Regions from separate parts of the Homo sapiens genome. Here region 2 is linked to region 1. Evidence: promoter capture Hi-C in 16 types of primary human blood cells and fetal thymus (Javierre and others, 2016). All regions are on one chromosome and are shown on one strand. The core of a region is centred on a gene start or on the middle of the fragment in contact, and the rest is flanking DNA. Distances in the headings are between cores, read along the strand shown.

Region 1 (3,916 bases), core at 1,325-3,824:
GCTGTGCTAGGAGCCCCATCCTTCAAGCACCCCCTCACCCAAGTCCACCCGGCAGGGCAATTCTGGACAGGATACAAGGAGGGCCAGGAGGGGAGCCCTGGGTCTGCTGGGTGGAGCATCCGGGGTGTGGGAGGAGGAGCCAGGTGCTGATTCAAAGACCTCAAGATATTTCCCCTCTGGGACCATGACATTGCCTGAGATTCCTCCATTTATACATGTCCCTGTATTAATATGGCATTGACCCTAATGAATGGGTGCAGAACAGCATGGCAGAGGAAAAAGGTTTGGGCTTGAGGATCTCACAAACCTGGCTTCCTGTGAGCTCTGTAACTTGGGCTAGAGGCCTGCCCTCTCTGAGACTCAGTTTGCTCTTTTGTTAAATGGATGCATTCCCTTCTCTGGATGCCATCACTCAGGTCTCTCCAACAATCCCAGGGCTCTGGCTCAGAGAACCGAGGGGAGGTTGGTGTGAAGGCTTTGGGCATGGTGACGCGGGTGAGCATCTGACATGAGCAGGTGCACTTGACCTAGAGTAGGTGGAACACAGTAGGCATGCTTTACCTAGAGCCCCTGCCACATAGTAGGAGTGCTTTGTGGAGAGTGCCTTGCACACAGTAGGCATTCTTTATGTCAAGAACTTTACATAGAGTAGTTTTACTTTATGTGGAGCACTTGACACACAGAAAAAACACTTTATATAGAGCATCTGGCACACAGTAGGTGTGCATTATGTAGAGTACCGGCCACACAGAGTCAGAGTTTATGAAGAGTACCCAGCATCCAGAGTAGGCACGCTTTATGTAGAGCACTTGACACACAGAAAGAACACTTTATGTAGAGCATCTGGCATACAGTAGGTGTGCTTTATGTAGAGTACCGGACACATGGAGTCACAGTTTATGAAGAGTACCCAGCACCCAGAGTAGGCACGCTTTATGTAGAGCACTTGACACACAGTAGGTGCACTTGACATAGATCACCAGGCACGTAGTAAACATGCTCTACATAGAACATCTGACACACAGTAGGTGTGTTTTATATAGAGCAGCAGGTGCAGAGTAGGTACACTTTACATAAGTTACTCCGCACAAATTTCACTTTATATAGAGGACCGAGAACAAAGAAGCAAGATTTTCTGTAGAGCGCCCAGCACACAGTGGACACACTTTTCATAGAGCACTTGGCACACAGTACACAACATGTATACAGAGTACCTGGCACATGGTAGGTGTGCTTTATTTAGAGTCCAGTACACAGTAAAAGAACTTTGCATATTGTCTTTTGCAAAGAGCAGAGACTGACACACAGCAGCTAAAGTGCTAGCTGCCAGCCCCTTCCCTTCACTCCCTCCTCAGAATCTTTCATCTGTCCCCATCTAAGGCCCATTTTCCTGTGATCCCTCCTCTGTCCCCCTCTAAGGCCTTATCTGACATCCCATTTCCCAGATGGGAAGCCTGAGTCCAGGAGGGGCTCACTACCCACAGTTAGGGCAAGGGGAGGGCAGAATAAGGACTCCACTCAGGGTCCCCCATCTCTGCCCTCCTGTCCCTGGCCCCATCCACTCATGGCCCCTCTCAGCCTTACCTCCCATCTCCCCTCTCTGTCCTCCTATGCTGAACCTAGCCTCCAGGTATTCTCCTCCAGCGGGGCTCTTTATCTCTAAAATCTGACCGGGTAATCCCCAGCACAGTTAGATAGTTTGTTCCTACTCCTGTCAGTCATGTCTCGACCCAGGCCCTGGGTTGCCTGGAGGCAGGACTTGAACTCCTGCCAGACTGTGAAGCCAGAGGCCAGGAGCTTCTGTCTCTGAATCTCCTAAGTCTGCACTGAGAAATGGTGCATGATGAACTCCTGGACCACATGTGGAGAGGAGCTCAGAACATGATCTGGCACAATGGTTGGCCTGGCCCCACTCTCTTGCCACCTGAACTCTCAAGTTCATGACTTTATCTGCCACACTCTTGCCTTGGAAGGGCAAGGTGGCTGTAAACTTTGGGGCTCAGAGTCACCTTTGACTCTTCCTCAAGATCCCCTCCCACTCAGGTGTGAGATGTTGAGACCTGCGGATCCTGTGCCCATGCTGTGTCACCCTGAGCTGGCTCCTCTGCACCCAGCTGGCCCTACGCCAGGTTTTGGTTGGTTGCCCAGGCTTGGAAGACACACCCAGTCCATGGGGATTGGCTCGACCAGCCCAGCCCAGCCTCGCCTCCCACAGCCTTCCGGAAATCAGGGGCCAGAGGCAAAGACCTCCTAGCAGAGGGGGAGAGGAGGGTATGTGGGACAAGCTGCTTCTGATAGGAGCCAGGCTGGCAGTGGCAGGGCTGGAGGGTCCTGGCCTGGGATGGGGAGGGGACTGCCCAAGGTTGGGGTGGGTCAAGGCTGCTGGCCTGGGAGACTGGTGATTTCCTGGTAACTGGACCCCTGGCAACCTCCCAGTGATTCAGGCTGGGCCTTTTTGGATTCTAATCAGCCTCTCTCTCTCTTTCCCTTTCTGTGTAACTGGAGGCCACTTGGCTGCTGGTTTTCATTGGGCATTTCTGGACTTTAGATCTCAGCTCTTGTTTACCCATCTCAGAGCCTTCCCTGATCTGCCTCCAGCACTGCCCATCCTTGCCCCTTTCCACTGTCCTTGGAGCTTCCTGGGCCCTTCCCTGGGCCTCAGGATCCCACCCTCCATCCCGTCTGCCCTGCAGGATGCCGCAGCTGAGCCTGTCCTGGCTGGGCCTCGGGCCCGTGGCAGCATCCCCGTGGCTGCTTCTGCTGCTGGTTGGAGGCTCCTGGCTCCTGGCCCGCGTCCTGGCCTGGACCTACACCTTCTATGACAACTGCCGCCGCCTCCAGTGTTTTCCTCAACCCCCGAAACAGAACTGGTTTTGGGGACACCAGGGCCTGGTGAGTTTGTCAGCAGGACGGGTCTGGGGTCTCAGGATGCATGGAGTTCCTGAGGGGCAGGAATGGGGCTCAGGGAGCTGGGTTTTGAGGGTGGCTGGGGTGTGGGAACACAGAGAAGAGAGGGAGGCAGCTCACTCATTCCTCTGCCCACTCACTCATTCCTCTCCCCGCTCACTCATTCCTCTGCCCACTCACTCATTCCTCTGCCCACTCACTCATTCCTCTCCCCGCTCACTCATTCCTCTCCCCGCTCACTCATTCCTCTCCCCGCTCACTCATTCCTCTCCCCGCTCACTCATTCCTCTGCCCACTCACTCATTCCTCTTCTCGCTCACTCATTCCTCTGCTCACTCACTCATTCCTCTCCTCACTCACTCATTCTTCTCCTCACTCACTCATTCTTCTCCTCACTCACTCATTCCTCTGCTCACTCACTCATTCCTCTCCTCACTCACTCATTCTTCTCCTCACTCACTCATTCCTCTCCTCACTCACTCATTCTTCTCCTCACTCACTCATTCTTCTCCTCACTCACTCATTCCTCTCCTCACTCACTCATTCTTCTCCTCACTCACTCATTCCTCTCCTCACTCACTCATTCTTCTCCTCACTCACTCATTCTTCTCCTCACTCACTCATTCCTCTCCTCACTCACTCATTCTTCTCCTCACTCACTCATTCCTCTCCTCACTCACTCATTCTTCTCCTCACTCACTCATTCCTCTCCTCACTCACTCATTCTTCTCCTCACTCACTCATTCCTCTCCTCACTCACTCATTCTTCTCCTCACTCACTCATTCCTCTCCTCACTCACTCATTCCTCTCCTCACTCACTCATTCCTCTCCTCACTCACTCATTCTTCTCCTCACTCACTCATTCTTCTCCTCACTCACTCATTCCTCTCCTCACTCACTCATTCCTCTCCTCACTCACTCATTCCTCTCCTCGCTCACTCATTCCTCTCCCCGCTCACTCATTCCTCTCCTCACTCACTCATTCCTCTCCTCACTCACTCATTCCTC
Region 2 (3,832 bases), core at 166-2,665, 230 kb after region 1:
TGTGGTTAAAGCAGTTTGGTCAATGCAGTTCCCAGTGGGGGGCAAAGGTGCCATCCTTGACAGATGTGGTTGGGGGAGCTCTCAGGGAAACACATGGAGGTCTTTTCAAGGGGAAGGGAGGGAGCCTCCTCAGCTCCCCTGCCAGGACAGCAGGAAACCTACCCACCTCCCAGATACACTCCTGACCCAGTGATCTGACTAGTCAGATCAGATAGGCACCTCTTTTCATTTGCAGGAATGCTGATATTCCCTGTAGAGAGGGACTGGGGCTCTGCCACTCATGCAAGCCTGAACCTGGAGAGTGCTCCTCCTATAGAATGCAGTCACTCTGAACTATTCCAGAGAGAATGAATGTCTACATGTGTAGCCATGCCAAGCTGTCATGGGAGAAGCTGCAGCTGTGTCTGCAGTAGTGGACAAGGGGAAGAAAAAGTCCCCTTCTCTAAGACCCTTCATTGATCCCCAGAAGTGCCTGACTGTTGAAGTAGATCTGCAGACATTTCCGCCACTGAACCCAGCACTGCACCTATGCCTCTGCTGAAAGAAACTTCTTGCCAGGCACAGCGGCTCAAGCCTGTAATCCCAACACTTTGGGAGGCTGAGGCGAGTGGATCACGAGTTGAAAACTAGCCGGCCAAGATGGCAAATCCTCATCTCTACTAAAAATACAAGAAGTTAGCTGGGCACGGTGGCAGGCGCCTGTAACCCCAGCTACTCAGCAAGCTGAGGCAGGAGAATTGCCTGAACCCAGGTGCAGTGAGCCGAGATTGCGCCACTGCACTCCAGCCTGGGGGACAGAGCGAAAGTCTGTCTCAAAAAAAAAAAAAAAGAAAAAGAAAAGCAACTTCTCATATGCGGAAAGTGGGACTCAAGGTCTACCATCTGGAATCTTTTGTCCCATGGTGTGCTCCATTGATACGGTGCACTCCCCTTCCCCCTAGAAGTAGGAGTCTCAGAGAGCCAGACTACTATGAAGGCTGCGGCTCCTCTTGGTCTAGCCACCCAGTGGGGCTGCCACAATTTATGCTGGTGCTGGAGAATATCTGCAAGGGGCCAATCAAGTAACGGATCCTCAAAACCCCCAGCAGTGGTACCAGCCCCAGCTCTGATGGGGGAAGAAGGGGAGTGATGTAGATTCTGTGAGATTGCTCAGTTATAAGTAGCCTTAGTGTGTTGGCTTTCTCAAATGCCAGCTGTGGTACTAACAAACTGGTCATGTGGACAGACTCAGAACTTCCTGATTAACCAGATGGATGCAGGCAATAGTGATAGCTGAGGTCATGCACAAGTTTTCTCCTTCCTGCTGGCTGTTATTGTGCTTGCAAGCAGATACTATAATGGACTCTGTCAATTGGCCCACAGCCAGGAGGTGGCGCTTGCAAAATAACACCAGCTGTGGTGGTAGCAGTGGAATTTGTGTCTGTCTTATGTTACCCAGAGGAGGTACTCTCGCGTCTCAGGCAGTGGCGGGCCGGGCGGGGGGGCCATAGGGCTCCCAAAAATTTCTGCCCTACGTATTAATATATCAGGGCAGGTGGAGGGGCAAAGCCAAGTGAGAGCTCAATCAGGCAAGTCCGCACTCTGGCTCTCCACCTCTGGACAAAAGCAGTAGCCCCACTGGGGATCAGAGAGTGGTTCTCTGGTTGCAGGAATAATGTCCAGGGAGGAGCACAGCTGCCTCTGCTTCACAGAAGAGTCTGTATGGGGAATGGGGAGTAGCAGGTGGCAATAAGCCACACCCAGCTCCTACACTCTTGGCAAGACAGGTCTTGCACCCACAGTGTTCCACTAGCAGCAGCTAGCTAGGTTCCAGGCAGTCTGTGCTCAGAATTCAAATGTGCCCCAGGCCATACGCCTTCCCTGAGGAGCCAGTATCTGCAGCTTTCAGGCCACACCTCTCCAGGTTTGCCCATTAAGCAGGGACACAAAAGTCCAATGCTGAGCCAGTATCTGCAGCTTTCAGGCCACACCTCTCCAGGTTTGCCCATTAAGCAGGAACACCAAGCTCCTGTGCTGGTTGCTGCAGCTCACTTCCCACTTGCCTCTTGGTCTGACCACGGGGGAGTTATCCCTACTTGAGATTATATTGTGAATCTCAGTTGGGAGTTTCTCTCAACCTGTGACCACCACCTGTGTTAGCTGGCAGACGTCCATGAGGTCCCCTGTGAGGTAGGATCAGGAATGGCTTCCCTTTGTCCTGCTGGAGACTGGGAATGCCAGAGACTGGGAATGCCTGCCCTGATGCCACTTCTCATATACTCCCACCACTTACTAAGTCAGCTCCAGTACTCAGAAGGATTAAGACCCAGCCACCCAGTTGGCCTGCCACAAGGAAGGATTAAGACCTTCCCTGTGGCCTGGATTACCAGGTTCCCCGGTGGGACTGTATATCCTGGAGGCACTTTACCCTCTCTCACACTCTGGGGACTTACAGTTGTCCACCTGGCTCGTGGTGTAGGCTGCAGCCTGATGCTTCTTTCAAAGGGTGGTTTCTTTCAGTTTTCCTGTTAAGTTCCTGTGTCACTTCTTGGAAAAAACTTCACAGTGTGAATCTTTACACACTATGTTGTCTTCCAAGTGGGAGAAGCATGCTAACAATCCCTCCAATCCACCATCTCAGGAAAAAAATAAATAAACTGTCTTTTCTATAATCCCCATTTCAATGGGGGTGAGATGTTATCTCACTGTGGTTTTGATTCCCATTTCCCAGATGGTTAGTAATGTTGAGCAACTCTTCATATACCTATTGGTATGTCTTCTTTTGAGGAATGTCTATTCAGATCATTTGCCCATTTTTACTCGAATTATTTTTGGGTTTCCTTTGCTATTAGTTGTCTGAGTTCCTCATATGGTCTGATTACCAATCCTTTGTCAGACTGAAAACGTGCAAATTTTTCTTCTCATTCTGTAGGTTGTCTCTTCACTTTGTTGATTGATTTCTTTGCTCTGAAGAAGCTTTTTTGTTGGATTTAATCCCATTTCACCATTTTACCTTTGTTGCCTATGCTGTTGAGTTCTTATCAAAAAACTTCTTGCCCGTATCAGTTTCCTTAAGCATTTCCCCAATGTTTTCTTCGAGTAATTCATAGTTTCAGGTCTTGCATTTAAGTCTTTTATCCATTTTGGTTTGATTTTTGAATATGGTAAGAGATAAGCATCTGGTTTCATTTTCTGCATGTACACATTCAGTTCTTTCACCATCATTTATTGAAGAGATTGTCCTTTCCCCATTGAATATTCTTGGCAACTTTGTTGAAATTCAGCTGGGTGTAAATTCATGGATTTATTTCTGGGTTCTATGTTCTGTTCCATTGGTCTTTTTCCATTGGTCTCTCTTTATGCCAGTATCATACTGTTCTGATTACTATAGCTTTGTAGTATAATTTGAAGTCAGATAGTGTGATTCTTCCAGATTTCTTCTTTTCACTCAGGATTGCTTCAACTCTGTGTAGTGTTCTATGATATCATATAAATTTTAGAATCTGTTTTTTTCTATTTCTCTAGAGAATGTCACTGGTATTTTGGCAGAGATTGCATTAAATCTGTAGAATGTTCTTGGTAGCTGAGTCATTTTCACAATATTAGTTCCTCCAACTAATGTTGGAATAATGTTCCTTCCAACATGGAATGTCTTTCTATTTTTTTTTGTGACCTCTTCAGTTTCTTTTGTCAGTATTTTATAGTTTTCCTTGCAGAGCTCTTTCATCTGCTTAGTTATTTTTATTTTTAAGTCATGTATATACACTATACTATTTCTTAGTAATCTGTATTACTTAGAAATATTTTTTTTTGAGATGGAATTTCACTTTTCTAGCCCAGGCTGAAGTACAAT

Evidence for each region. The method cuts DNA at HindIII sites, captures the fragments that hold promoters and counts their contacts. A CHiCAGO score of 5 or more calls a contact.
Region 2: a contact is called between a fragment that was not itself captured here and the fragment with the promoter of CYP4F11 in region 1, in 1 of 17 cell types (M0 macrophages). The highest score is 5.3, in M0 macrophages.

The regions. Positions count from the first base shown.
Region 1 is chr19:15,933,187-15,937,102 of GRCh38, reverse strand. CYP4F11 (cytochrome P450 family 4 subfamily F member 11) reads left to right here and starts at 2,574. Exons shown (of 12, transcript NM_021187.4): 1 at 2,574-2,892. The coding sequence starts at 2,695. The HindIII fragment of the contact is 9,699 bases long and covers 1-3,916 here.
Region 2 is chr19:15,700,252-15,704,083 of GRCh38, reverse strand. No RefSeq gene overlaps it. Among named protein-coding and RNA genes, the nearest start is that of OR10H2, 26 kb to the left of the region's middle. The HindIII fragment of the contact is 3,084 bases long and covers 1-2,957 here.